7 separate regions of the Homo sapiens genome follow, and regions 1, 2, 3, 4, 5 and 6 are each linked to region 7. The links are contacts of gene promoters, found by promoter capture Hi-C in blood cells and fetal thymus (Javierre and others, 2016). All regions are on one chromosome and are shown on one strand. Each heading gives the region's core, a stretch centred on a gene start or on the middle of the fragment in contact. The rest is flanking DNA. Distances are from core to core; before and after follow the strand shown. Region 1 overlaps LPXN (leupaxin). Region 2 overlaps ZFP91 (ZFP91 zinc finger protein, atypical E3 ubiquitin ligase). Region 3 has its middle 5.5 kb from the start of CNTF. Region 4 overlaps LPXN (leupaxin). Region 5 has its middle 23 kb from the start of CNTF. Region 6 overlaps ZFP91 (ZFP91 zinc finger protein, atypical E3 ubiquitin ligase). Region 7 holds the start of ZDHHC5 (zDHHC palmitoyltransferase 5).

Region 1 (3,812 bases), core at 732-3,231, 880 kb before region 7:
TCACAAGGCCTCCCTGGACTCAATGCTTGGGGGTCTGGAGCAGGAATTGCAGGACCTTGGCATTGCCACAGTGCCCAAGGGCCATTGTGCATCCTGCCAGAAACCGATTGCTGGGAAGGTGAGATGGGCTGAAATTTTGGTCCTACAGCCTTCTTTGTCTCTCTCTGTCTCATCAAGGTTTGCTCTTTCCCCTTATATTTTAAGATATTTTAGTTAGCATTAATAATTACTAATCACTTACAGTGCTCTGGCCACTGAGCTAAGTGCTTTACAAGTATTTCCTCATTTAATGGTCACATCAGCCCTTCAAGAAGAATGATTGCTCCCTTTGTAAAGATGAGGAAACTGAGGACTCAGAGACATTAATGGACATATCCAAGGCATAATAAGAGGTAGAGGTAAGATCTGAAACCAGGAGACTGTCTCCTGAGTTTGAGTTCTTGACCATTTTTCTGTACTGCCTTTACTGAGATGACCTTTCTCACTGCTCCCTTTGTTCACACATTCCCAGTCTAAATTGATTGATTACAATTTTCAGCTGAACTCAGCTCCAAGTCACAGCTGCAAACTCCTGTTCTGCATCGTCCTTCACCGAAGCTATGATAAAAAGCTTTGAGACCTGACTGCATGGGGCGTGGAATAAAGTGTTCAAACTAGAGGAATAAAAACTGTCATTTGGCCTTTTCCTCTTCCAGGGGTCCCTTCCACACTAAGGCTACAGTTACAACTTCTCTGTCATCAATGTGCTATATGTTGTTTCTGCCACCCCCTGTGGCAGTGCAGTGGTTGTGAACATTTACAGGCTTTCATCACAGTGATCAGTCCCGGAAGTGGGCATCCTTTTATTATCAATCCATAAAGCACAGACCACAGATGGCCTTAGGTGGAACCTAGGTCTAGGCCTCAGTGTTGTATAATTCCAGGGCGTGTTGTCTACAAGGGGTACAATGTGAAGAGTGCTCCCTAGAGTTGTGCAACCTGTAGGCTGTAGAGCACTCAACTGGCCTCCTGTGTCAGGCTTTATTTCACTCCACAGGTGATCCATGCTCTAGGGCAATCATGGCATCCTGAGCATTTTGTCTGTACTCATTGCAAAGAAGAGATTGGCTCCAGTCCCTTCTTTGAGCGGAGTGGCTTGGCCTACTGCCCCAACGACTACCACCAACTTTTTTCTCCACGCTGTGCTTACTGCGCTGCTCCCATCCTGGATGTAAGTAAATCCCCGCTCCTCTCCAGCTTTCAGTCACTCACTTAGAACCAGAGTCATGCTTTACAACTTCTGCATCATTATAATATCTGTGTGTTCCCTTTCCAGAAAGTGCTGACAGCAATGAACCAGACCTGGCACCCAGAGCACTTCTTCTGCTCTCACTGCGGAGAGGTGTTTGGTGCAGAAGGTATGACCCGACTTGAGAGGCTGTATCCCACACCCCAGTGGGTAGTTATAAGACCAGCAACACCTTTCCTGGTAGTCACGGGAGTCCTGGTTCCTATCAGTACTATCAAAGTGCCCATTTCAGTACTAGATACCATCCCTCCCTACCTTTCTCCAACATTTATAATTTCCCTTTAAATTGATTTTTTAAATCACAGAAATACAAATGCATAGTTTAAAAACTCAAATATTACTTCAAGGGTAATATTGAAAAAGCCTTTTCTTGTTGAATATTGAAAAAGTCCCTTTCTCATCTCCAAATCCAGTTCTCCTCTCCAAATTATTTTAGCTGTTTCTTCTGATATTTACTTATTTTTTGTTGTTGTTGTTGTTTGTTTTTTTGAGACGGAGTCTCACTGTGTTGCCCAGGCTGGAGTGCAGTGGTGCGATCTCTGGTGCGATCTCCGCCCACTGCAACCTCCACCTCCTGGGTTCAAGCGATTCTCCTGCCTCAGCCTCCCAAGTAGCTGGGACTACAGGCACTTGCCACCACACCCGGTTAATTTTTGTATTTTTAGTAGGGACAATGTTTCACCATATTGGCCAGGCTGGTCTTGAACTCCTGACCTCGTGATCCGCCCGCCTTGGCCTCCCAAAGTGCTGGCATTACAGGCATGAACTACTGCGCCTGGCCTGCTTATGTGTTTTAAATAATAACTTTATATTGTTATAGATTGTTTTATTTTTCCAGTTTTAACCATTATGTATTGACTGTCTAAGAGGGAAGATGAGGTTTAGAAATGTTATTATTACCCCACTCACTCCTAACATATTTCCCCTCCCCTGTTTTTTCAATATATAATTATGTCATAATTACAGGTTAGATCAGTATTAAGTGTGCATATGTTGACAATCATAGAATACTGCTCACAAGTAAGCCATGTAGCAAACTGACTACACTAGAGTCTGGATTTTAGAGTCAGACTTCCAGGTTCAAATCTGGGTTGTGGTATTTGTTCAAGTCATTTAACATCTCTGTACCTTACTTTCCTCATCAGTAAAATAGTCCTAATGAAATTGCCTACCTTATAGGGTTGTTATGAGGATTTAGAGACAATACAAGCGTGGTATTTAGAATAGTGCCAAGCACATGGAGGTATAGTAGTGTTAATATTATTATCACAGTGTCCTTTTGGTATAAATTCATTTTTTTCTAAAGTTAACATTTGAATCCTTTTTGAAATTGGCTTAGTTTTTATTGTACTTATCACTAAGTTATGCAACAGAACTGTGAAATTCTTTTCAAAATGGCCAACTACATCTGGCAACAAGTCAGTTTCTTTCTTTTCTTTTTTTTTTTTCTGGAGATATCCCTCCAGGAGACTTTCCTCCTCCTGATTCAACATGAAATGATTTCTTCCTGCTGAGTAGCAGTCATTCTGGTTCATTAACTTAGAATTATATCTAGTAATTACTCTTGGAAATTCCTTTTATTAGTTTCCTCTTTGGATGCTCTGTTTCCTGGGTCCCATGTCTATGTTTTATACATGTTACCACCTTTATTTTGGTGGGGAACATCCCCTAGTAGCTTTCTGAGAAAGAATTTTTGAGAACTTGAATATCTGAAAATATTTTTATTCTGTCATTGCCCTTAAGTTGCCTGGGCATAGAATTCTAAGTGGAAACTATTTTCCTTCATAATTCTGAAGACATTGCTTCACTGTCTTCTAGCTTCCATGATTGGCAAGTTTTTATTAAATTTTTTTTATCCTTGATCCTTTCTACATGACCCATTCTTCCCCCTTTGTATGTTTGTTTCATGTGTTTTCTGAATTGTCTTGTTTTTTTTAATTTCTCCTTTTTATGTTTGTTTTGAACAAATATGGAATCAGAAAGCTGCTTTACTTTGTTTTTCTCCTGTCCTTTTAGAATGAACTCAGTGGGGAAGGATTTCTCCTCTCATAAATAAAAGCTTGTGCAGTCCTCTGTCTTTTCTGATTACTGTTAAAAAACAGTTCTAAATATAAAATCAATTTAAGAAACAAAACACAAAAACTAAGCCATTAGGTAATTCAGTCTGTGTAATAGTTAAGGCTTCCAGCACTTTAAAAGTGACAGCCACTCCCTCTCTTTTTTAGGACCTTCAAGCTGCAGGAGGCGAGGACAGGGGTATGGCCTTTCCTCTCTCCTGACCTCGCTTTGTTATCTACCACCCTCACCCTTATTGCCAGCCTTGACACCTGCCTGCTCTAGGGTTGAAACACTAGGGAGGATGGAGATGAGAATAGAAGGCAGGAAGGTCTAACTTGTCTAGGATTGTTGTTAAATTGGCTTTATGCTCTCCAGGCTCAGCCAGTGTTTAGCTCTGACTTTTTTCCCTGAATTCTTTTCGGGATTAAGACAGGTCCAGCAGTGAACTCTTGATTGCCCTTTACGT
Region 2 (3,431 bases), core at 7-2,506, 930 kb before region 7:
CCGGTGGTGGCGCACACCAGTCCCAGCTACTCAGGAGGTCAAGACAAGAGAACTGCTTGAACCCAGGAGGCAGAGGTTGCAGTGAGTTGAGATCGCACCACTGCATTCCAGCCTGGGCAACAAAGTACGACCCCGTCTCAAAACCAAAAAAAAAAAAAAAAAGATTGATACTACTGGCAGGAATGTTTTCTTCTAATTCTTCTAGATAGCAGACAATGAAATATGATTTATCTCAATCCTACAGCCAGAGATAATTATTATAACAAGTCAAACCATCAAATTCCAAAAGATGAGAGCCACTTGGTCATGATAAAATACTTTAAGTTAGAAGGGCCATTCTAACATAATCAATGCTATTATTTTATTGTAGGGTGAAACAGGGTGTGGTTAGTTGATAAGCTGGGAAGATACTAAAGGTAAAGGTCTTCAAATCTCTCTTTAAGTATTTAAATTTCTTCTGGGCAATTAACAAATCTTAAGTATTAACTGCTAGGTAATATATATTTTTTTCATTTCTCAAAAATCAGTTATAACCCTATCAAGTATTTATTATTCTTATCTTCATAGATGAAGAAACCAAGTAACTGACTTTCCCAAGTGCACATATTAAAAGCTGCTGAGGGAACTGAACACGGGTATATCTAAGTCCAGTCTATATTCTTTCTACTATACCACACCTAACCATATAAACGAGAAATGGAAAGCACCACGGCAAGGGCTCAATCCAGATTTGGCTCATTTCCACCCAGCCTTGGATTCAAGTGCCAAGAGGGCCCCATTTATATAATATACTAACCTGAAACACCTGTAAGAATTATTCCATGAGTGAATTTTTAACCTAAAGCCACATGCTGTATTTCCTTATGTTTCAAAACAGAACTAGAGAAATTTTATTGTGATTAAAAACCGGAAAATAAATGAGATTTTAAAATTGTATTTAAGAAATTTAGAATGTTTACATTCCAAAACAGTTTACTCATTTTTAAATCAACACTGTGTATTAATGCCTAGATTTTTCTTTCTTATTCTAGTCATCTCTGTTTACTCCATCTACATATGTTTTTTCCTGGCTTACTGATTTCAAAGCAGACATCAGCCACTGGTGCACTGACAGAAAGGATAAAAAATATTAGGCTTTCACAGAATTTCTGCAGATATTAAAATTTTGGAGCAAAACAAAAATAGAATCACAAAGTAATGTCATCAAAGTTCAAAGTATAGGCATTAGGTGAATTAGTTCTGCTTCTTAAAAACATTAAGACTTTGCTCAGACATAAGTTTGAGAAGGTGAAAGGATGGTTTCTCTGAAAACACAGCTCTTAAAACTAGTGCTTATTAACTTAATGATCTCTATAGCTAAGAATTAGCTCAACATTTAAGTTTAAATAAATATGGTGAACTCTGAAGAATAAATAAGTGGTAGCTAGCTGATAAAGAAGGGGCAGGAGAAACGAGTACATGTACATGTCTTGAGAATTGAAAGAAAGAAGATAAACATGACTGCAGCAGAGAAAACATGACAAAACCCATCATTTATCATGCCGAGGAGGCATAAAAAAGTCTAACAAGGTCCTTCCAGGATTTTGAATCTTATCCTAATAGCCACAGACAGAGTTTAAACAGAACGGTGACATGATCAGATTTGCATTTTTAATGTTCATGTTGGCTGCAGGCTAGACAATGAGCTAGGTAGGGGCAAGAGTAGATGCTAGGTAACCAGCTAAAAACCTACTCCAATATGCCAGGCAACAGATAATAATGGCTTTAAAGAGGGTAATACCACTGAATATGGAAAGAATTAGAGATATAAGAAATACTTAGGAAACAGACGAGACAGGACTAGAGAATAACTTAACAGGGATAGAGGGAGATGCCAAGGATTTGGGATTCTAGATTTCTGACTTGAACAATTGGACTGATGATGAAAACAAAGAAAAAGATCAGGGTTTTTTGTTTCTTGAAGAGACACTAGAGAGAATATGTGTTCTGCTTTGACCAAGTCTGAGATTACTGCTGAGTAAAACATCAACAGGCCTAAAGTTCAAAGGACAGGGCGGGCTACAAACATAAAATTGGGAATTGTCAGCACATAAAAACAAACTATTATTGTCTAGATTTAGCTTGGTTCATATAAAATGGATCATTTTCAATATTTATGAAATGTGTTGTTTTTGGCTATCCCCAACATCTGGCTTATTCATTGATTTCTCTCTTCCAGCAGCAGTTTTGCATTAAAAAATATATTAAAAACAACCACAGTACAATCTTGTTCTGTTCATATCACTTTTTCTGGGGCATGAAAGACATATACAAGCGTAGCACTAATATTGAGAACACGTTTAAGAAAAGGAAAGAGCAGAGAAAAATATTTGTGTATAAATTTATTGTAGCCTAAGTATACAGTGTTGATAAGGGGACCCATGCAGTTTCATCACCTGCTGGTGCTCTCTGAGCATCTGGTGGCTGCTGGGGACAGACAGATAAACTTAGAGTTTCATTCAAAACAATAGAACACACACCAACTTAGCAACTGTGAAATATGTAATACATTATTATTAACTGTGGTCACCGTGCAGTGTGATATAGTTTGGATGTTTGTCCTCTTCAAATCTCATGTTGAAATGTGATCCCTAATATTGGATGTGGGAGGTGTTTGTGTAATGGGGGTGGATCCCTCATGAATGGCTTGGTGCCATCCCTGTGGTAATAGGTGAGTTCTCTATTGCTTCATGTGAGACCTGGTTGTTTAAGAGCCTAGCCCCTCCTCCCCTCTCTCTCGCTCTCACTCTGTGACACACCTGCTCCACCTCCACCTTCCACCACAAGCGAAAGCTTCCAGGGGCCTCACCAGAAGTCTAGCTGATGCTGGTGCCATGCTTGTACAGCCTGCAGAACCATGAGTCAGAAAAAACTCTTTTCTTTACAAATCATTCAGTCTCACATATTCCTTTCTAGCAACTCAAAAGGGACTAATACACAGTGCAATAGATCATTAAAACCTACTCTCCCAATTTAACTGAAAGTCTGTATGTACCTTTTCATCTCCATCTCCCCTTTTCTCATTCCACCTCCTAACCCCCCAGCGTTCGGTAACTACATTTCTATGAGACAGTTATTTAGATTACACACAAGCGAGATCATACAGTGTTATCCTTCTGTGCTTGGCGCATTTTACTTAGCATAATGTCCTCTGGTTCCACCCACGTTGTCACGAATGACAGAATTTCCTTCATTTTAAAGATCATCTGTTTGATACCTTAGAACATTCTGGTCAAAGTAATGATATAATGAAATTAGCTGGTTGCTCTTAACTAGAAAACATGAAGTGGATAAAGAAAAGGATGTGCAGACTGGACACGGTGGATCATGCCTATAATCCCAGCACTTTGGGAGGCTGAGGCAGGGAGATCATCTGAGGTCAGGAGTTTGAG
Region 3 (3,632 bases), core at 245-2,744, 960 kb before region 7:
TGGGATGTCAGGGCAAATTGCTGAACCTCTTTGGCTTCTTCATGTTATGTTTAACGAAGGGATTGAACTAAATGAAGTTTGAGTTCCTTCTGGTATTAACAGGAGGGTGTAGGCGTACGGTGGGATGATTCTAAGTCTAAACGCATGCTTTAATGTATCCTGGGCAGCTCCTTAGACGGCATGTTTCCTTGGCTCCCTCTGGAGCCTACCAGGCTTCTCCAGGACTTGTCTGACCATGCCTACCGTGAAAGCTGCCTCCTGGGTGAATGGCCTGGGTTGTAACTCTCCAGGGAAGTGGATGATTCCTGGAGGCTGTGAGTGAGACTGCTGGGTCAACCTCCAGTGGCCAAAGGCCAATAGGCACAATAGGGTGAAGTTGAGGCTGTGGCCAGATCATTCCTGGTAAGCAGGTGGTATTCTCTGAGATACTTAGGAGCTTGCTCCTCAATCAACTCTGAATCCAAGCTACCTGAGGCATTAAATATACCTGATGATGTCTGCATGTCAGTTACAAGTAATTTCAGATACTCAATTTGTCTATAACAACTGTGTAGTTAGCTATTTTTCATCATTTTCATTTCACAAATGAGGAAGCTCAGAAAAAAGAGTGACTTGTCTGAAAGTTTAGAAACTTATATAGACTTCGTTACAAAGCAAAATTCTGTACAAGCCTGTATTGGCTTTAGCCAAGGAGAGTGGATTAGAGACAGAGAATGGATTTCAGAATAAGAGAATTTTGATTACCAGATGTCCTATGGCACAAGATGTAGTGAAGTGAGCTTTAGAGCCAGAATTAAGACTCCAGCCCTGTCAGGTGCTAGAGGAGGAAATTTGGGCAAGTTAATGCTCATTCTCATTTTCCTCATCTAAGAGATATGTCAGAGGATTAAATAATATAAAATAATGCAGAGCTGCCTGACATGTTACATTATTCCCTTTCATACTACCTTAAATATGTGGATAGAAATACAGAATCTCTCAGTAACTGTTTCATATTTTCCTCTATGTGATTTTCAACAATTTGGTTTCTACCTCCAACCTGACTAAAAATGGGCTAGTCAGGGTTCTTCTCTTGAAGTCAAAGGCTTAATGGGGGGGGGGGGGTGGTCAGCTACTTGCAATTAAGCCATATAAAAGGAAATCATTCTCATCTGCAGTCTAGCTGATAGGACTACGTATTCAGAGGGCAAAGCATTGGCCTGGTGATATAGGGGCAATCTACCTTTTCTAGGCTGACTGGCCCTGGGAGTTTTGCCCAGTGTGAGTGGCCTGGCACCATGGAGATTTACTCAGCACGCTTGATTGGGCCTGGCCCTGGCTAGGAGGATTATGCTTCATCCAATGCTGAAGTCACTTGAAATTCCCCTCATTCATCCAAAGATACAGAAAAGAAGTAACTTATGGTATTGCTGAGAAAAGAACTTTATTGTTAGCTATTCTTGCATCTTTTGTTTTCTATGTGTTCAAACCAGATTGATCGAAATAATCTTTTATATTAAGAATCATAAGCACATAGATTTTATCTCACACCCAGACACTTCATCAAACCATCAAATTATCTTATTCTGTCTTTATCTGTAGTTCTCAGAGGGCTACAGAAGCCAAGAAATGAAGTTTTTATCATTTTTCGCTTTTGAATGCACCCACATTCAGAGAGCTCATTCTTGGGTGGGTCTGACGCTTGCAGTGGAGGTGGGATGAGGCAGGAGGCCAAAGCATTCCTTTTAAGAAATGTCCTGACCTAAACAGTACATTAACAGTACATTAGTCACACACGCGCGCGCGCGCACACACACACACACACACACACACACACACACACACACAGAATCAACTGAAGTGAAATCAAAATTCTACTCCCCCCTACCCCCTTCCTCTTTACCAATCCCCTTTACATCCTGGTGGAGGTCTCTCTGCTTCCCGTGTCTCTATTTCACCCCTTAACAGAGATGCTCAGGTACCTCATGAGGAGCTGAGGATTCACAAACAAAATTCAATCTAAATAACTTTTCAGATATGTCTTCCTGAAATATTTACTAGTCCTCTCCCTGTCTGACAAGTGATCACAACAATGAGTCATCCTTTGGGCATTGATCCATAGCAGCTTGAAATAACAGCAATACCAGAGCTATGACTTTACATTTTCCATTTTTATTAAAACTCTCCCTTCACTTAAACCTGATTATCTTAAGGCTAATTTTATTCCATGCTTGGCTTTCAAGTTTGTGCTGATTTGCGAGCCTTTTCCAAATCACCCTCTTACATGAATGCAAGAAAAACTCTCATCCATGCAATTCCTTGACTCAGGAAAACAAGATCTCTTTACCCACAGAGGACTTTTCAGAAGGTACTCTCTGAAAAGGAGGCAGAAGAAATTGTTTTTACAAAATGAGTTAGGGCTAGAAACTAAATCTATGTACCTTAAACTATAATTCAATCTATATAGTTATACCATATATGATTTCCCAGAGATCTTATCCATATCAGATCAACAGAATAAAACCTAATGAACAAAATCTTCTTGGGGTTCTATATTCCTAAAAAAACGTAATTCCATAGTGTCATCGTTATCCTCTTCTTTACTATAAGGCACACATCTAGAATACTAATCCATTCAGTCCCTTTTTCTATTTATCCATTTCAAATAAACATGATGCAATGTCTACACATTCAGATCTCATACATGTTGATTTTTGTTGCATGGTCTACTGCTCATTTCCCCTTTATCTTTTTCTAAGATTAGCTTTCCCCACACTTCTTTTGGGTGCATATTGTATGCTTCCTGAAAGACAAGTACACAGCGTTTTGCAAAGTGCTGACAATGCACTTGGTAAAGACTTGGTGATTCTGTGACTTAATTGTGACTTACACATTTTTCTATCTCCTCCCATTCAGTGGTTAGTACTTGTGCCTTTTGTGGACCCTCTGCCACTTCAAATCCGCCTCTTATACATACATATTCCTTTACATGCAACTCATGAGAGCTTAAGCCAAGCTCCACTGAGTTCTGAAACTTCTGCAGATGTCTGCTGCTGTACCTGCTGAACATAAAAACACTTGGAGAGGGGACACTCATTTTTTAAAAACATTTTTGATGGAGGGAGTATGGGGGCAACATCTTTTAATTTTTTATTTAAAAAATTTCAAAAATTTATTTTTACATGTATAATTGATGGGGTCATTTTAGATGCAGCAAATTCATAGTCAGTTATTCCCCATTAAGAAATTGTAGACATATTTCTCCATTGAACAGAAGTATTATCCAGATAGCTCTAAGAGCTTCATATTAATAAGCAGAAATTTTATTATTTGAGAATGCTGCTGTTAAGCAGAATTAAGAGAAAGCTTGAATGGAATAAGACTATACATTCAGTGCCAAAATTACAAATGATCACCTCTTCCCTTCTCTCATGACTTCTCTTTTGTACTCAACCAGTACAGAGTATTTTGTAGTTTTGTACTGAGACACAACTCCTACCTCCTCCGGGAAACTACTTTGGGCCCCTCTCCTTCCTTTAGCTTCCTAACAAACCTGGGACTTATAATTTCGACTATGTGTGTGTGTGTGTGTGTGTGTGTGTGTTTGTGTGTTTACAGAATCTCTGGTATCTCCAGTGAGAACAGAGTAGGCC
Region 4 (3,453 bases), core at 265-2,764, 900 kb before region 7:
TCTCAGTTTTATCCCCAACCATTTTTTCTCTCCACACCCTAAAAGACAGGATACTTATACCTTGCTTTGAAAATTTTGTTACGTGCTCAGGATAATTGTTAAGATTTAAGAAAAAATATCATTAGGATTAAGAATAAGTGTTATTTCCCTCGTATGTTTTGAAAAATGGTAATATAATTGCTTCTATTTTTCTGATAGAAAAAAGCATTTAGGATTTATTTATTTATTTATTTATTTATTTATTTATTTATTTTTTGAGACAGGGTATCACTCCTTTGGCCCAGGCTGCTGGAGTGTGGTGGCGTGATCTCGACTCATCGCAGGCTCACCTAGGCTCAGGTGATCCTCCCACCTCAGCCTCCCAAGTAGCTGGGACCACAGGTGTGCATCACCATGCTGGGCTGACTTTTTTGTATTTTTCATACAGACTGGATTTTGCTATGTTGCCCTGGTCTGGAACTCCTAGGCTCAAGGGATCCTCCCGCCTCAGCCTTCCAAAGTGCTAAGATTATGGGCATAAGCCACTATACCCAGCCCAGTTTTATTTTTTTCTAATTAAGGATATTTGTGGGGAATCTACCCTAAATGAATGATGAAAATTAATACCTGTGGTATAAAAAATCAAATTATAGCATGAGACTATGAAATTGAATGCAACCATAGAAAATAAGAAACAAACCACAATTTATGGAGGTGTTAAACATTTCTTGGTAGGATTCACCACATTCTTGAAGTGAAATAAGGAATAAGGGAAAGTATTTGAAAATAGCCATAATTGAAGAAAAGGAGATGAATGTGGGCACAGTGAAGATATTTAAGGAGAAAATGACTGTAGGGATTTAAATATTCTCTGTCATGATTCTCTTGCTTCTTATGGTGTAGATGCCTTATTGGAGGAACTGGAACGCTCCACCCTTCAGGACAGTGATGAATATTCCAACCCAGCTCCTCTTCCCCTGGATCAGCATTCCAGAAAGGAGACTAACCTTGATGAGACTTCGGAGATCCTTTCTATTCAGGATAACACAAGTCCCTTGCCGGTAAATTTTCATTTATTATAGTCCTTAAACATGGATGTTTGAGTGCATTTCTGAAAATTAACAGAATCCCACATAAAATAATATGAAAGGAGAATAATATATCCAAGAAAGAGAAAAAATAATGCCTCAATGTTAATCTAAAGATGTTTTTGGAAAGAGGAAGAGAATTGAGAAAATCATCACAGAGGAATGAGTTTTTGAGAACTAAATTTTTTTTATTTTTTTTATTTTTTTTATTTTTTTTTTATTTTTTGAGACAGAGTCACACTCTGTCTCCAAGGCTGGAGTGCAGTGGCACAATCTCGGCTCACTGCAACCTTCACCTCCCAGGTTCAAGCGATTCTCCTGCTTCAGCCTCCCAAATAGCTAGGATTACAGGCACGCACCACCATGCCCAGCTAATTTTTGTATTTTTAGTAGAGACGGGTTTTGTCATGTTGGCCAGGCTGGTCTCAAACTCCTGACCTGAGGTGATTCACCCGCCTTGGCCTCCCAAATTGCTGGGATTACAGGCATGAGCCATCACGCCCAGCCGAGAACTACATTTTTTCTAATGAGCACATGGTCACAGGCAGAGTATTGCATTCACTGGGGATATTCTGATGTTACTGTGGGGGCATCAGAGATGCCTGTTGCAGTTTGACTGGAATGGTACTCAGGCCAGAGATCACCTGAGGAAGGCCAGGTGGCAGCATAGACAAGTCTTCTCAGGGTGACTTTTTAGGGTCACTACTTCCCAGGTCTTATTTTCTGCTGAATAGATTAGGAGATTCAATTATTAGTTTATATAGAGATGATGAAGCTCTAGGGAACCAACTCAAACTAACCAAATTGACAAGTGATTATATATATATTTTAAAAACCTAGGGCAGGTGCAGTGGCTCAGGCCTGTAATTTCAGCACTTTGGAAGGCTGAGGCGGGGGGATCACTTGAAGCCAGGAGTTTGAGACCAGCCTGGGCCATATGGTGAGACCCCCATCTCTACGAAAAATTAAAAAATGAGCAGGGTGTGGTGGTGCGTGCCTATGGTCCCCGCCACTCAGGTGGCTGAAGCAGGAGGATTGCTTAAGCCCAGGTGGTCGAGGCTGCAGTGAGCTATGATTGCGCCACTCCATCCCAGCCTGGGCGACAGAATGAGAGCTTGTCTCAAAAAACAAACAAACAAAAAAAAAACAAAACTCAGAAATCAAATTTACAGTTAAAGCTATCAAGTAAAACAGCTATATTTACTCATATATGCATTCTCTTCCTATGGATAAGTCTATATGGACGTACATTATAATTAAAAGGTTGCTTGATGAGAATGGAATTAGTGTAAGATGAATTAAGTAGATGCTCTTCATAGCTGGTAATTTTGTACTATGATATTTTGATTCATCATTGTTCCCTGTATGAAATAGCCAGAAGCACAGACCTGAAATTTGAGCTCAGGGGTAGTTTACGCCCTAACTGTTCTTTTCTCCAGACACATACACAATTTTAACGATACGAATTTATCTCTCTACTAGGGAACTATTGTCTTTGTTCTCAGTGTTAGATTATAGCTGTAGGCTCCTAAGTGGTCTCCTGCCCTTTGCCCCACTGCAGTCTGTTCTCAAGCAGCCAGGGTCACCTTTAAAAACTAAAGTCAGACCCTGTCATTCTTCTACTCAAAACCCCAAAATGACTCCCATCTCATTTGGAGTAAAAGCCATAGTTTCATGTTGATCTTTCTGGGGTGACCATATATCCTGGTTTACCTGAAAGAGTCCTGGGTTTATGCTTGTTTTTCTCACATCCTATTAACTTTACTTTTTACCCCAGATCTTCAATTTTATTTAAAGTTTTCTTATCAGTATTTGCATTAAGTAAGCCACTATGGCTTAACAGACCTCCTTCCAGCTTCTTCCATGGTCTCATCTAGCAGCGTATGAAACACATATTCAGTGAACAGTGCTCTTTTTTTTTTTTTTGAGATGGAGTCTCTTTCTGTCGTGCAGGCTGGAGTGCAGTGGTGCAATCTTGGCTCACTGCCACCTCTGCCTCCCAGGTTCAAGTGATTCTCCTGCCTCAGCCTCCTGAGTATCTGGGACTACAGGCATGCACCACCATGCGCAGCTAATTTTTGTATTTTTAGTAGAGACAGGATTTCACCATGTTGACTAGGCTGGTCTTGTACTCCTGACCTCAGGTGATTTGCCTGCCTCAGCTTCCCAAAGTGCTGGGATTACAAGCACGAGCCACTGTCCCCAGCCAAATTCTGACTTAATTATGGTTAAATGCAAAAGATGGCTAATGATAACTTGTCTTTTTTCTTGATTCTGTTCAGATGAAACCTAGCTAGCAGCAACCTTTCAAGAATTATATGCAGGGTGCTGCCTGTTAAAGCTAAGAGCTCAAGCACAAGTACCTCTTCTGATCTTAGGTGGTAGC
Region 5 (3,661 bases), core at 440-2,939, 980 kb before region 7:
TGCCCCCACCTGATGGTCTTTCACTAACCACTATGGTAGCTAAAGACAAAAGTCATAATCTTTTGGGAGCTCTGTGGCCCCACCCATCACCCAAGAAATCTGAATACCTTAGGGCAAGCTTGTATTCTCTCTATACCACTGCAGCTGAAGCTCTCTTGAAAGCACCACCTCCTGGTTGGAGGCCAACAAACTCAAGCCATTACAGAAACTCAAAAAAGAACAACCCTGCTCTAAGAAAGGAGAAAACAACAGCTAATTCTATCACCTGTAACATCCTGGCTAACCAGAGGTCCTGAGTCTGTCCATGTGACAACTTCACTGCTACATTAACTAGCATTTCAAACAAACAGTGCACTAAATAAAACTATAATCAAGGTCCCACACAGAGTCCACCTCGCTCCCCAGCTACCTCCACCAGAGCAGGTGCTGGTATCCACAGCTGAGAGACCTGAAGACAGATCACATCACAGGACAAGTTGCAGACACTCCCCAGTACCAGCATGAAGCCCAGTAGCTCTTCTAGGTGGCTAGGTCCAGAATAACAATAACAATCACTGCAGTCCACCTCTCAGGAAGCCCCATCCCTAGTGGAAGGGCTTCAAGGGATCACCCCCTTGGGACAAAAGAATCTGAAGAGTATCCTTGAGCCCCATAGCATTCCTCTGACACAGTCTACCAAAATAAGAAGGAATCAGAAAAACAATTCTGGTAATATGAAAAAGCAAAGTACTTTAACACCCCCAAAATATAACACTAGCACACCAGCAATGGATCCAAACCAAGAAGAAATCTCTGAATTGCCAGAAAAAGAAATCAGAACATTGATTATTAAGCTAATCAAGGAGGCACCAGAGAAAGAAGAAATTTCTAAGCAGCAAAGCATTCAAGAGGTGACTTGGGTATTCTTAAAAGCATTGAGTTTTATTCATTCACAGAGACATGGTTTGAAATTGAAACTTGTGTCTTAAAGGGAAGCTGAGCATAAAAGTTTGGGAAATTTACAGCCTGACAATGTGATAGAAAAGAAAAACTCATTTTCTGAGGAGAAATTCAAGCTGGCTGCAGAAATTTGCAAATTTGCATAAGTATCAAGGATCCAAATGTTAATTGCCAAGACAATGGGGAAAATGCCTCCAGGGTATGTCAGAAGTCTTCATGGCAGCCCCTCCCATCACAGGCCTGGAGAGCTAGGAGGAAAAAATGGTCTTGTGTGCTAAGCCCTGGGCCTTTCTGCTTTGTACAGTCTCAGGACTTGGTGCTCTGTGTCCCATCTGTGGCTAAAAAAACCAATGTACAGCTCTGGCCATTGCTTCAGAGGGTGCAAGCCCCAAGCCTTGGTAGCTTACATATGGTGTTGGCCCTGTGGGTGCACAGAAGTTAAAAACTGAGGTTTGGGAACCTCTCCCTAGATTTCAGAGGATGTATGAAAATGCCTGGATGTCCAGGCAGAGGTGTGCTACAGGGGCAGAGCCCTCATGGAGAACCTCTACTGGGGCAGTGCAGAATGTAAATGTGGGGTTGGAGGCCCCACACAGAGTCTCTACTGGAGTACTGCCTAGTAGACCTGTGAGAAGAGGACCACCATCCTTCTCCAGATCCCAGAATGGTAGATCCACTAACAGCTTGCGCTGTGCACCTGGAAAAGCTGCAGACACTCCATGCCAGCCTGTAAAAGCAGCCAGGATCAGGGGCTATACCCTGCAAAACCACAGAGGTGGAGCTGCCCAAGACCATGGGAGCCTATTTCTTACATCAGTGCAACCTGGATGTGAGACATGTAGTCAAAGGAGATCATTTTGGAACTTCAATGACTCTCCTATTGGATTTCAAAATTGCATGAGGCCTGTGGCCCCTTTGTTTTGTCCAGTTTCTCCCATTTGGAATGGGTGTATTTACCCAATGCCTGTACCCCACTGTATCTGGAAAGTAACTGACTTGCTTTTGATTTTACAGGCTCATAAGTGGAAGGGACTTGCCTTGTCTCAGATGAGACTGGATTGTGGACTTTTGAGTCAATGCTGAAATGAGTTAAGACTTCGGGGGACTGTTGAGAAGGCATGATTGGTTTTGAAATGTGAGGACATGAGATTTGGAAGGGGTCAGCAGTGGAATGATATGGTTTGGCTGTGTCCCCACCCAAGTCTCATCTTGAATTGTAGTTCCCATAATCCCCATGTGTCATGGGAGGGACCCAGTGAGAAGTAACTAAATTATGGGGTCAGGTTTTTCCTGTGCTGTTCTCATGATAGTGAATAAGTCTCATGATAGTGAATAAGCCAGCTTGAATTTCTCCCCAGCCACATGGAACTGTGAGTCTATTAAGCCCCTTTTTCTTTATAAATTACCCAGTCTCTGGTATTTCTTCATAGCAGTATGAAAATGGACTAATACAGTAAATTGGTACTGGTAAAGTGGAGTACTGCTATTAAGATACCCAAAAATGTGAAAGCAACTTTGGAACTGGGTAACAGGAAGAGATTGAAACAGTTTGGAGAGCTCAGAAGAAGATAGGAAGATGTGGGAAAGTTTGGAACTTCCTAGAGGCTTGTTGAATGATTTTGACCAAAATGCTGATAGTGATATAAACAACAAAGTCCAGGCTGAGACGGTCTCAGATGGAAATGAGGAACTTACTGGGAATTGGAACAAAGGTGATTCTTGCTGTGCTTTAGCAAAGAGACTGGCAGCATTTTGCTCCTGCCCTAGAGATCCGTGCTATTCACAATAGCAAAAATATGGAATCAACCTAAGTTCCCATCAATGGATGAATGGATAAAGAAAATGTGGTATATATATATATATATATATATATATATATATATATATATATATAGAATGGAATATTATTCATCTATGAAAAAGAATAAAATTCTGTCATTTGCAGCCACACGAATGGAACTAGAGGTCATTATGTTAAGTGAAATAAGTCAAACATAGAAAGATAAATACCACATATTCTTATTCATATGTGGGAGCTAAAAAAAGTGGATCTCATGATGATAGGGAGTGGATTGGTGTTTAGCAGATGTTGGGAAGACAAGCAGGGAGGGAAAATGAAGAGAGGTTGATTAATGGGTACAAATATACAGTTTGATAGAAGAAATAAGACCCAGTGCTTGATACATCAGAGAGGTGACTATACAATAATATATTCTTTATTTCAAAATAGTGAGAAAAGAATAATTCAAATGTTTCTAGCATAAATAAATGTTTAAGGTAATGGATATCCCAATTGCACCAATTTGATCTTCAAAGCTTATTTGAATATATGAAGTTATCACACACACAAAGCATCAGTAAAAAATAAGATTAGAAAACAAAAAATAAATATAGTGTAGGTTTTGAAAGCATAAAGTGTAATAAAGAGAGGGAAAAGAGATTAATTGGACATTTGATTTGAAACCAAGGCAACAGTCAGACTGCTGGCGACCTTGAACATTAAACTCAAGAATTAGGACTTAATTTTGTCAAGGAATTCTCAAATCTAACTGTGCTACAAAATTTTCTAGGGACTGTCAAATGCCATTTCCGCAAATATCATCAATACAAACTGTTGATGAGATAGGGAAAACACCATTTCAGCAGAGATTTGGCAGTATCTCAGAAAGCAAGGTTAGAATTTATTGAGAATTTAAGTTTCATTTAAGCCACTTCCCTCCGT
Region 6 (3,625 bases), core at 306-2,805, 940 kb before region 7:
TCGTGTCATGTTATATTTGTTGCTGAAGATCAAACAGGTATTTCCTAAGCAGTATTTCACTTTCACGTTTCCTGCCAGACCTAAATATAAGTGGTACGTTTACTCATCAAAAATAATAATAATAATCTACTCAAGAAAAATAAAAACAAAACCTCAACTAAAAGTCTTTTATTCATTCTACACAGTACCCAAGAAATCACAGGTTTGAGTTCTAATTTTACTTTTTTTCTAAATCACTTTAAAATAAAATGTTACTCTGTATTTACACCACATTGGGAATTACTGTAATATTGAAAGATTCCAACGAAAGTTCTCTATGTGGGTTCAGATTCTTAGTCACCTCTTTTTAAACAGGAGGTGCTATGAATTTGGATGTGTTCACCACAGTTCATGTGTTGGAAACTTAATCCCCAATGTGATAGTGTTGGAAGGCGGGACCTAATGGGAGGTGCTTAGGTCTTAAAGGCTCTACCCTTATATAAATGGGTTGATATTATCATTGGAGTAGATTTGTTACAAAAGCAAGTTCAACCCATTCTTGCCCTTCCACCATGGGCTGACACAGTTAAAAGGCTCTTGTGAGATGTGGGCACCATGCTTTTGGACTTTCCAGTCTCCAGAACCACAAGCTAATAAATAAATATATGTTCTTTGTAAATTACCCAGTCTCAGGTACTCTATTATAGCAGCACAAATGGACTAATCATGATTAACCCATTTATGCTGGAGGTTGCAAATGTATTTTTGTGAAAAATCAGACCTTGGTGATGACCTTGAACAGTAGGATATAAATAACTTGCCCAAGCTTAGCATTCTAATAATGGAACACTAGGCATAAATGGGTTAAAGTCATTTTATGTTTAAAGAAAGACTTTTCTTGACATTACATGTCAATGATAAAGCCTACACAAGCCAACAAATTAAAGTCTCGTGGTGCAAGAACAAGTAATGGAACACAACCTGAAAGGCTCTTATATAACAACTTCACTGACCTGCAAATAGCGAGGATGGGCAAGGACAGTTCCACATCCTTCCATCTCACAACGGACATACTGGATTGGAGGCTTTTTTCTATTATCAAAATGCAGAAGAAAAGTTAGCAAAAAAAAAAAAGTGGTACTCTGCACAGTGGCCTCTGACTTAAACTGTGCTATTGGGAATAGCTATTTTATAGTAGGAAGAATTAAAATCTCTTTACTACTATACAGATTACACAGAATTTGTATTAGAAGTAACCAAGAATTAGCAAATATTTGACAGAATTAAAAAGTAACACAAATAAACTAATGACCCCCCAAAGGTAAAGTATTAAGATTGTTAGAAATTTCAAGCTCTTACAATGAAAATAAGATCATAACACCTGTGCATCTAGGACATTAGTGAAGTTGCTTTTGTGAAATTTTTAAATAGCCATTCCTGCAGGATTATCATGAAGTCTAAATTTGTGAGTAAAGTGCCTGGTACTGGAATAAGGTGTAAAACAGTAGGGGTAAAAATTCCTCACCTCCTTTTGGGTAAACGTGGACTTTTGTCATCTTTTCGTCTTCTTCCTCTCCTGTAATTGAAGACAGGGTAACAGTAGACATATTCTGAATCAAAACTACACAGTGAAGGCTGGCTGAAGACACACACACACACACACGGCCAAAGAACAAGTGGCAAAGGATAACCAAGAATACATAAAGTCAAAGATATATCTGGCAAATCAAGCAAGTAATTTTACCCTGAAGTAATTTCACTTTCAAATCAGTCTGTAAGACAGATTAAATATATACCTTCCATAAACTATGCAATACTATGAAAGACTTAGAAGAATCTCAATGTATTACTTTTAGAGTTGCTACCATGTATCATCTAAAAACACTAAGATTAAAAAATACCTTCTCCTTGCAATAGAACTGAAAAACCTAAACATTTTTTTACTAAGAGTCTCTCCAGTGAAATTGTCAGCTGCTTGAGGCCAAATTTTTTTAAGTTAAAAAATACATATTTTGAAGCATGTATACGTCAACATCCTTCCTCACACTCCCACTCTTTTTTCCACTAGTCGTTCAAAATCTGTTAGATTTTCATTTTTAATAATTGCCTACTCACTTCCTTGGAGGTTCCTCATCCTCTCTAATTTCATTCTCCTCTTCTTTCACCTCCACCTCTACTTCCACTTTAATTTCCTTCTTCTCCTTCTCTTCTTTTACCTTCCCTGATTTTCTCCGTGGCTTTGGGGTTTCCCTGAAAACACAAATGCATTTCAATACTAGACAAAAGATCTTTTCAAGGAAGACTATGACAACAAATTAAAGCTTAGAGTTATCACTGATTTGTTATAAAACTACCTTCCTCAGTTCATGAAATGTGATTTCCTACCAATCATCCTCACATGCATAGTAATGATCCAAATATATGTATATGTTGCTCATGGAATGAACCCTCCCCAGACTAAAGATGCCTGTAAATCAAATTTCACTATAATTGTAAAGAGAAACGAGACAATTAGTTAAAAAATTCTAAGTATTCAGGCAATTCATGATACCTTGTTGAAATAAAACATGCAGACTCATAAAAACTTGTATATAATCAAAATAAAGTTCTACAAATGGGAAAGAGGATTATTATCAGGGTATATTAAGGTGTTAGACTTACAAAAGAAGTGCATAATTAATTACTCATTTAAAATTAATTCTATACCCATTAGCTTGGCAACAGATAAAATAAAAGCATGCAACAGTGCTTTCCTACTTATATTTCATTAACATGTCTGCAGTAAAATCTGAGACATGCCTTTCTAAGTGGGGTTTGTAGGTCTCATCTCTTGGATCATCTTTGAATGGTATCTCCTCTTCACTGATTAACATCTCTTCTTCCTCCTCCTCTTCCTCTTCACTACTAAAAATAAGTAAATAGAAATGAGACATTCTGGTTGTAGCGAACATGTCTGAGGGGATTTTATTTGGTAATTTTTTAAGAGGTAGCCAAACACTGATAAAGTCATCTAGCATTTTCATCCTAATGACCTAATTGGACTGAAATCTAGCTGTTTTATCACAAAGAATAATAATTGAAACTAAAAAGACATAAATCCTAGATAAAGACAGGGTGATGACAACTCAATGGCATTAAAAGTTAAGAAACAACTGACTTTGTAATACTGTCTGGTGATCTGCTATATTAAAAGACCTACTAACAGATAAATCACAACACAAAAGATTCCAATAAAATCTCAAAACCTTGGCCAAAACACCCATATTTCACATTAGTGCCTACCATGGAATAAGTCCAAACACAGAAGATACTCAAGACATGATTTCTAAGCTATGTAAGTAGATTACATGGTTTAAGTTCTAATCAAGCTCAACATGGAATCTAAATGCAGTATCAAAACTGAAGTTAATTTCTCTTACAGCTCAAAATAATTTCAAATGGAAGCAACTTCTGAATCATTTACTGTGACTATGCTATGTCCCCAAAGGTTTAAAAATGAAATATTAATGTTTTTTTTACCTAATGCCACCTGGAGACTGATGCTCTTCTCCAACATCTAGAAAAACAAAGCCAAAAACAAAATTTTATTAGTGTAGATATAAGATATTTTCTCTCTGCAGTCAAGAAATGCAAATCAAATTACTGC
Region 7 (3,714 bases), core at 559-3,058:
AAAAACCTAACAATTTATTGGGTATAAATAAAGATGAACCAATTCTTAGCAAAAGAATGTGCTGCAGATACTAGGATGAAACCACAAGGGTGAGTATGGTTCATCAGAGTCAACAGTTTGAATCCATACTAGTATCAAAAAAGTATACAAGAATATGTATGCCAGCTGGGCACGGGGGCTCACGCCTGTAATCCCAGCACTTTGGGAGGCCGAGGCGGGCGGATCATTTGAGGTCAGGAGTTCGAGACCAGCCTGGCCAACATACCAAAACCCTGTCTCTACTAAAAATACAAACAAATGAGCAGGGCGTGATGGGGCATGCCTGAAATCCCAGCTACTAGGGAGGCTGAGACACGAGAATCGCTTGAACCCGGGAGGTGGAAGTTGCAGTGAGCCAAGATAGCAGCCACTGCACTCCAGCCTGGGCGACAGAGCCAGACTCCGTCTCAAAAATGAGAAAAAAAGTAATATGTATGCCATATTGAGGCACAGAGTAAACTATGAAATGGAAATATGTATATGTAAAACAAACAATACAGGATATGTGGTTTGAAGGCTTTAATAAGGTTTAATACAGGTATTTCCTTAAATAGGTGGATACCAGCAGTACCAAGGACAACACAACTATTTTTTGTTGAAATAAGCGGTGTAACAGTACAATAGAGTAAATCTAAATGCACAGTAATGGAGGTACCATGGAATAATTCACATGTCAAGGTATGGGAGAAAGAGCCAAGAAGTTTAATGTGGGTGTTATCATTATATACCGAGGTAGCAAAATACATGGCAATATAATTTTGTAAACATTAAGTTTATACAATGGGTGATAATGAGCATTCTGAAGATATTTGATCCAGGACAGAGGTATACTGAGATAGAAGGATGATATGCAAATGTTAGATCAACTTGGTCAAGATGGCATTAACCAGGAAGTGAAGAATCCAAGGCAAAAAATAGTCTAGCGTATAACGTATATGTGATCCTACAACTGCCTTCCTAACTTTTAGCAACTTTCTTACTTCTTATTTCAGTGTTTCATTTGGCCAAGTGGGTAAAACACTTTCCACCTGCCTGCCCCAAATATAGGTAAAATATTGACAAACGCATTCGGGCTCCACTTTAAAAAGTACAAAGTACTAAACGCATGGAGCACTCGGCTGGTGGCGGTAGGAGGAGGAAGCGGACGGGTGAGAGAGAACAGGTAACAGGATGAAGCTTGAGCCAAAATAAGTATCAGCAGAGTGGAGCGAGGGACTCGAACCGCAGAGCGGTAAAAGGGAAACAGCACCCGGTCCCCACCACGGGACTGGGGAAAGGAGAATCACCCGTTGGGGCAGGGCTGACGACCGCTGAAACCGAAAAGAAGGAATCCACGGCGGCCAGGCCCACCGAGGTTGAGAGAGCGGGCTGCGGGGACCGCAGAGCCCGAGGGCGCAGGGCCGGGGGCGGAAGGGGCGGCGGCTGGGCGCCAGGCACCGGGGACCGCGGTCTCGAGCTGAGTGGCCGTCTCTAACCCGTTCCGAGCCCTGGCGGTCGTGGATCCCCGGCCTCTACTCGTCGTCCGTTTCCAAGGCCCATGGGTCCCGCCGCGGTTGGAAGACCCGGCCCGGAGGAGAAATAGGGCCTTAATACCCTCCCCGTCTTCGGTCCCCCTTCCCTAGAGGTCACCCTCCCCTCCCACCTCGCTGGTACGGCACTTCCGGTTCCGCAGGGACCGGTGTCCTCCGCACTCACCCGCGAGCCCGGTGCCCGTCACCACCGCCGTCGTTGTCACCGCCGCCTCCCGGCAGTGCCGTCCTGCCTCAGAGAAGCAGCGCGCGGCCCCCGCACGCTCCACGCCCGCCCCGCTGCCGCGCGCTCCCGCCAGGCGTCGCTCGTCTCGGAGCCGGCGCGCGGCCGTTGCCCTCAGTGCCGGGTCTCGAACCCTTCCAGCGTTCCCATTGGCTCCCTAGTCCGGGCTCGCGCGACGTCTCGCGCGGCGCACGTTTGTCTCATTCATGCGGCTCGCGCTGCCGCGCCCAACCCCGCTCACTCTCCCATTCACCCATAGCCCCCACCCCGACTCCGATCTGGGGCGTGCGCGCGAACCCTGGCGACCGCGGCGACCTCGCGGCCTGATTGGCTGCAGCAACACAACGACGTACGCACGCGAGAAGACGAGAGCGCGCACGTAAGGCCGTGGGGTTGCGGGGACAACTAAGAGACAAGGATTGGCCTAATGCACAGGAGTCAGGAATGAGGAAATGGCCAGGCGAGTCTTCCCTTCTCCTGCGTCCTGTTGTATTCCCACTGAATCCAAGCAAAAACCCCCGGAAATAAGAAAAGAATTATGTGTGTGTACTAGAAGTACTCAAAAGCAAGCAGCTACCTTCTCGAATTCAGCAACCCCTCTCCTACTGAGGTGGTACAGTCCAGACAGGCTTCCAGCGCAGCCAATTACCGACGACTATCGCCGCTTCCTGCTTCAGCCCCTTCGCGGCGGATTGGCCAACCATTTGGCGACTAGGCCTCCCTCTTCTCCTTCCCATCTCCTTTTTTTTTTTTTTTTTTTTTTTTGATGGCAAAAACTTTATTTAAAACAATCTTGCTGGAGAAATCTTCAGTCCGGCGAGGTCGCTGGTCCGGGCAGAATCCAGGGCGATGGAATGGTCTGGGCTGTGTCTCCCACATGAAGGGGACGCCCGGACTTGAAGAGCCAATGTAGGGCGAGGCTCCTGCCAAGGGCCGGGGAGGGAGATGAAGAAGAGCAGGCGCCAGCCTTGGAGCCGTAGCGCTAACCGTGAGAGGGAAGCCTAAGGAGCGCGCGACCTGAGGCGGTGGCAGCACCCTCCCGCCCCCGGAGTGCGAGCCGGGAAGTGAACTCCCTGAATTCCATTAGTTTCCCACTGTCACACGTGGGATGGGCGCCCGCATCCCTCACCTCACCCAATCCTAGAATACAAAGCTAAAAGCAAAAGGTTCTCTAGAATAGCTACTGTCCCTGGCGAGCTAACTCTGCATAGGTCATAGTGCTACGCTTTGCCCTGATTAGCCCAAGACAGCTGTGAACCCAATAGCAATGCCCCATGTTCTCTCCCCATTCGGCTCGAGGCTATTTCTTTTTTCGAAAGCAACTCTAGCTATTACATAATGGTCCCTCAAAAAGGTGTTTCACAAGCCACTTCCCTGAAGCCGAGGCCCCTCACCTGTAAAATCCTGAGGACTGTCCTCGGGTTTGGTCTCAAATGTTGCTGGCTTTACTGTGGTTCTGACACTAGCATTAGGCAGTAAGGTAAAAGAGAACTACCTTCTGTTTTCTGGAATCTAGTTCCTTCTCTGACATGGCATATATTATAAGTTCTAGTTTATTCTTGTTAACAGCGTCAATCCAGCATTTATTGCAACACACTTGAGAGTTCTTTATAACGACTTTATATTTTTAAAACAGACCTGGCCTGGCGTGGTGGTTCACACCTGTAATCCCAGCACTTTGGGAGGCCAAGGCAGGCGGATCACGAGGTCAGGTGCTCAAGACCAGCCTGGCCAACATAGTGAAACTCCCTCTACTAAAAATACAAAAATTAGTCGGGCATGGTCGGGGGAGCCTGTAATCCCAGCTACTCGGGAGGCTGAGGCAGGAGAATTGCTTCAACCCGGGAGGCAGAGGTTGCCGTGAGCCGAGACCACACAACTTCACTCCAGCCTGGGCAACAGAGCAAGACTCCGTCTCAAAAC

What was found. Contacts are between HindIII fragments. The CHiCAGO score rates a contact against its expected background, and 5 or more counts as called.
Region 1: a fragment that was not itself captured here is called in contact with the fragment with the promoter of ZDHHC5 in region 7 in 9 of 17 cell types (non-activated CD4 T cells, total CD4 T cells, naive CD8 T cells and 6 more); the score reaches 12.9 in non-activated CD4 T cells.
Region 2: a contact is called between a fragment that was not itself captured here and the fragment with the promoter of ZDHHC5 in region 7, in 3 of 17 cell types (total CD4 T cells, naive CD4 T cells and activated CD4 T cells). The highest score is 8.5, in total CD4 T cells.
Region 3: a contact is called between a fragment that was not itself captured here and the fragment with the promoter of ZDHHC5 in region 7, in 7 of 17 cell types (naive CD8 T cells, total CD4 T cells, naive CD4 T cells and 4 more). The highest score is 15.0, in naive CD8 T cells.
Region 4: a fragment that was not itself captured here is called in contact with the fragment with the promoter of ZDHHC5 in region 7 in 13 of 17 cell types (naive CD8 T cells, total CD8 T cells, naive CD4 T cells and 10 more); the score reaches 22.0 in naive CD8 T cells.
Region 5: a contact is called between a fragment that was not itself captured here and the fragment with the promoter of ZDHHC5 in region 7, in 1 of 17 cell types (naive CD8 T cells). The highest score is 5.0, in naive CD8 T cells.
Region 6: a fragment that was not itself captured here is called in contact with the fragment with the promoter of ZDHHC5 in region 7 in 8 of 17 cell types (naive CD4 T cells, naive CD8 T cells, total CD8 T cells and 5 more); the score reaches 13.3 in naive CD4 T cells.

What each region holds. Positions count from the first base shown.
Region 1 is chr11:58,547,371-58,551,182 of GRCh38, reverse strand. It overlaps LPXN (leupaxin), which reads left to right. Exons shown (of 9, transcript NM_004811.3): 5 at 1-118; 6 at 1,037-1,210; 7 at 1,316-1,397. Among named protein-coding and RNA genes, the nearest start is that of LPXN, 27 kb to the left of the region's middle. The HindIII fragment of the contact is 2,737 bases long and covers 613-3,349 here.
Region 2 is chr11:58,592,304-58,595,734 of GRCh38, reverse strand. All of the region lies in intron 2 of ZFP91 (ZFP91 zinc finger protein, atypical E3 ubiquitin ligase), which reads right to left. The region is part of intron 2 of ZFP91-CNTF (ZFP91-CNTF readthrough (NMD candidate)); the gene reads right to left. Among named protein-coding and RNA genes, the nearest start is that of ZFP91-CNTF, 15 kb to the right of the region's middle. The HindIII fragment of the contact is 3,157 bases long and covers 1-2,834 here.
Region 3 is chr11:58,626,302-58,629,933 of GRCh38, reverse strand. No RefSeq gene overlaps it. Among named protein-coding and RNA genes, the nearest start is that of CNTF, 5.5 kb to the right of the region's middle. The HindIII fragment of the contact is 3,706 bases long and covers 1-3,347 here.
Region 4 is chr11:58,568,143-58,571,595 of GRCh38, reverse strand. It overlaps LPXN (leupaxin), which reads left to right. Exons shown (of 9, transcript NM_004811.3): 2 at 883-1,040. Among named protein-coding and RNA genes, the nearest start is that of LPXN, 6.0 kb to the left of the region's middle. The HindIII fragment of the contact is 6,686 bases long and covers 1-3,453 here.
Region 5 is chr11:58,643,595-58,647,255 of GRCh38, reverse strand. No RefSeq gene overlaps it. Among named protein-coding and RNA genes, the nearest start is that of CNTF, 23 kb to the right of the region's middle. The HindIII fragment of the contact is 3,137 bases long and covers 121-3,257 here.
Region 6 is chr11:58,610,208-58,613,832 of GRCh38, reverse strand. It overlaps ZFP91 (ZFP91 zinc finger protein, atypical E3 ubiquitin ligase), which reads right to left. Exons shown (of 11, transcript NM_053023.5): 4 at 3,499-3,535; 5 at 2,779-2,883; 6 at 2,095-2,229; 7 at 1,505-1,555; 8 at 993-1,071. ZFP91-CNTF (ZFP91-CNTF readthrough (NMD candidate)) reads right to left here. Exons shown (of 13, transcript NR_024091.1): 4 at 3,499-3,535; 5 at 2,779-2,883; 6 at 2,095-2,229; 7 at 1,505-1,555; 8 at 993-1,071. Among named protein-coding and RNA genes, the nearest start is that of CNTF, 11 kb to the left of the region's middle. The HindIII fragment of the contact is 1,495 bases long and covers 808-2,302 here.
Region 7 is chr11:57,666,208-57,669,921 of GRCh38, reverse strand. ZDHHC5 (zDHHC palmitoyltransferase 5) reads right to left here and starts at 1,808. Exons shown (of 12, transcript NM_015457.3): 1 at 1,735-1,808. RefSeq lists enhancers at 1,107-1,176, 730-1,367, 1,368-2,007, 2,177-2,756 and silencers at 1,287-1,486, 1,737-1,976. The HindIII fragment of the contact is 3,116 bases long and covers 1,218-3,714 here.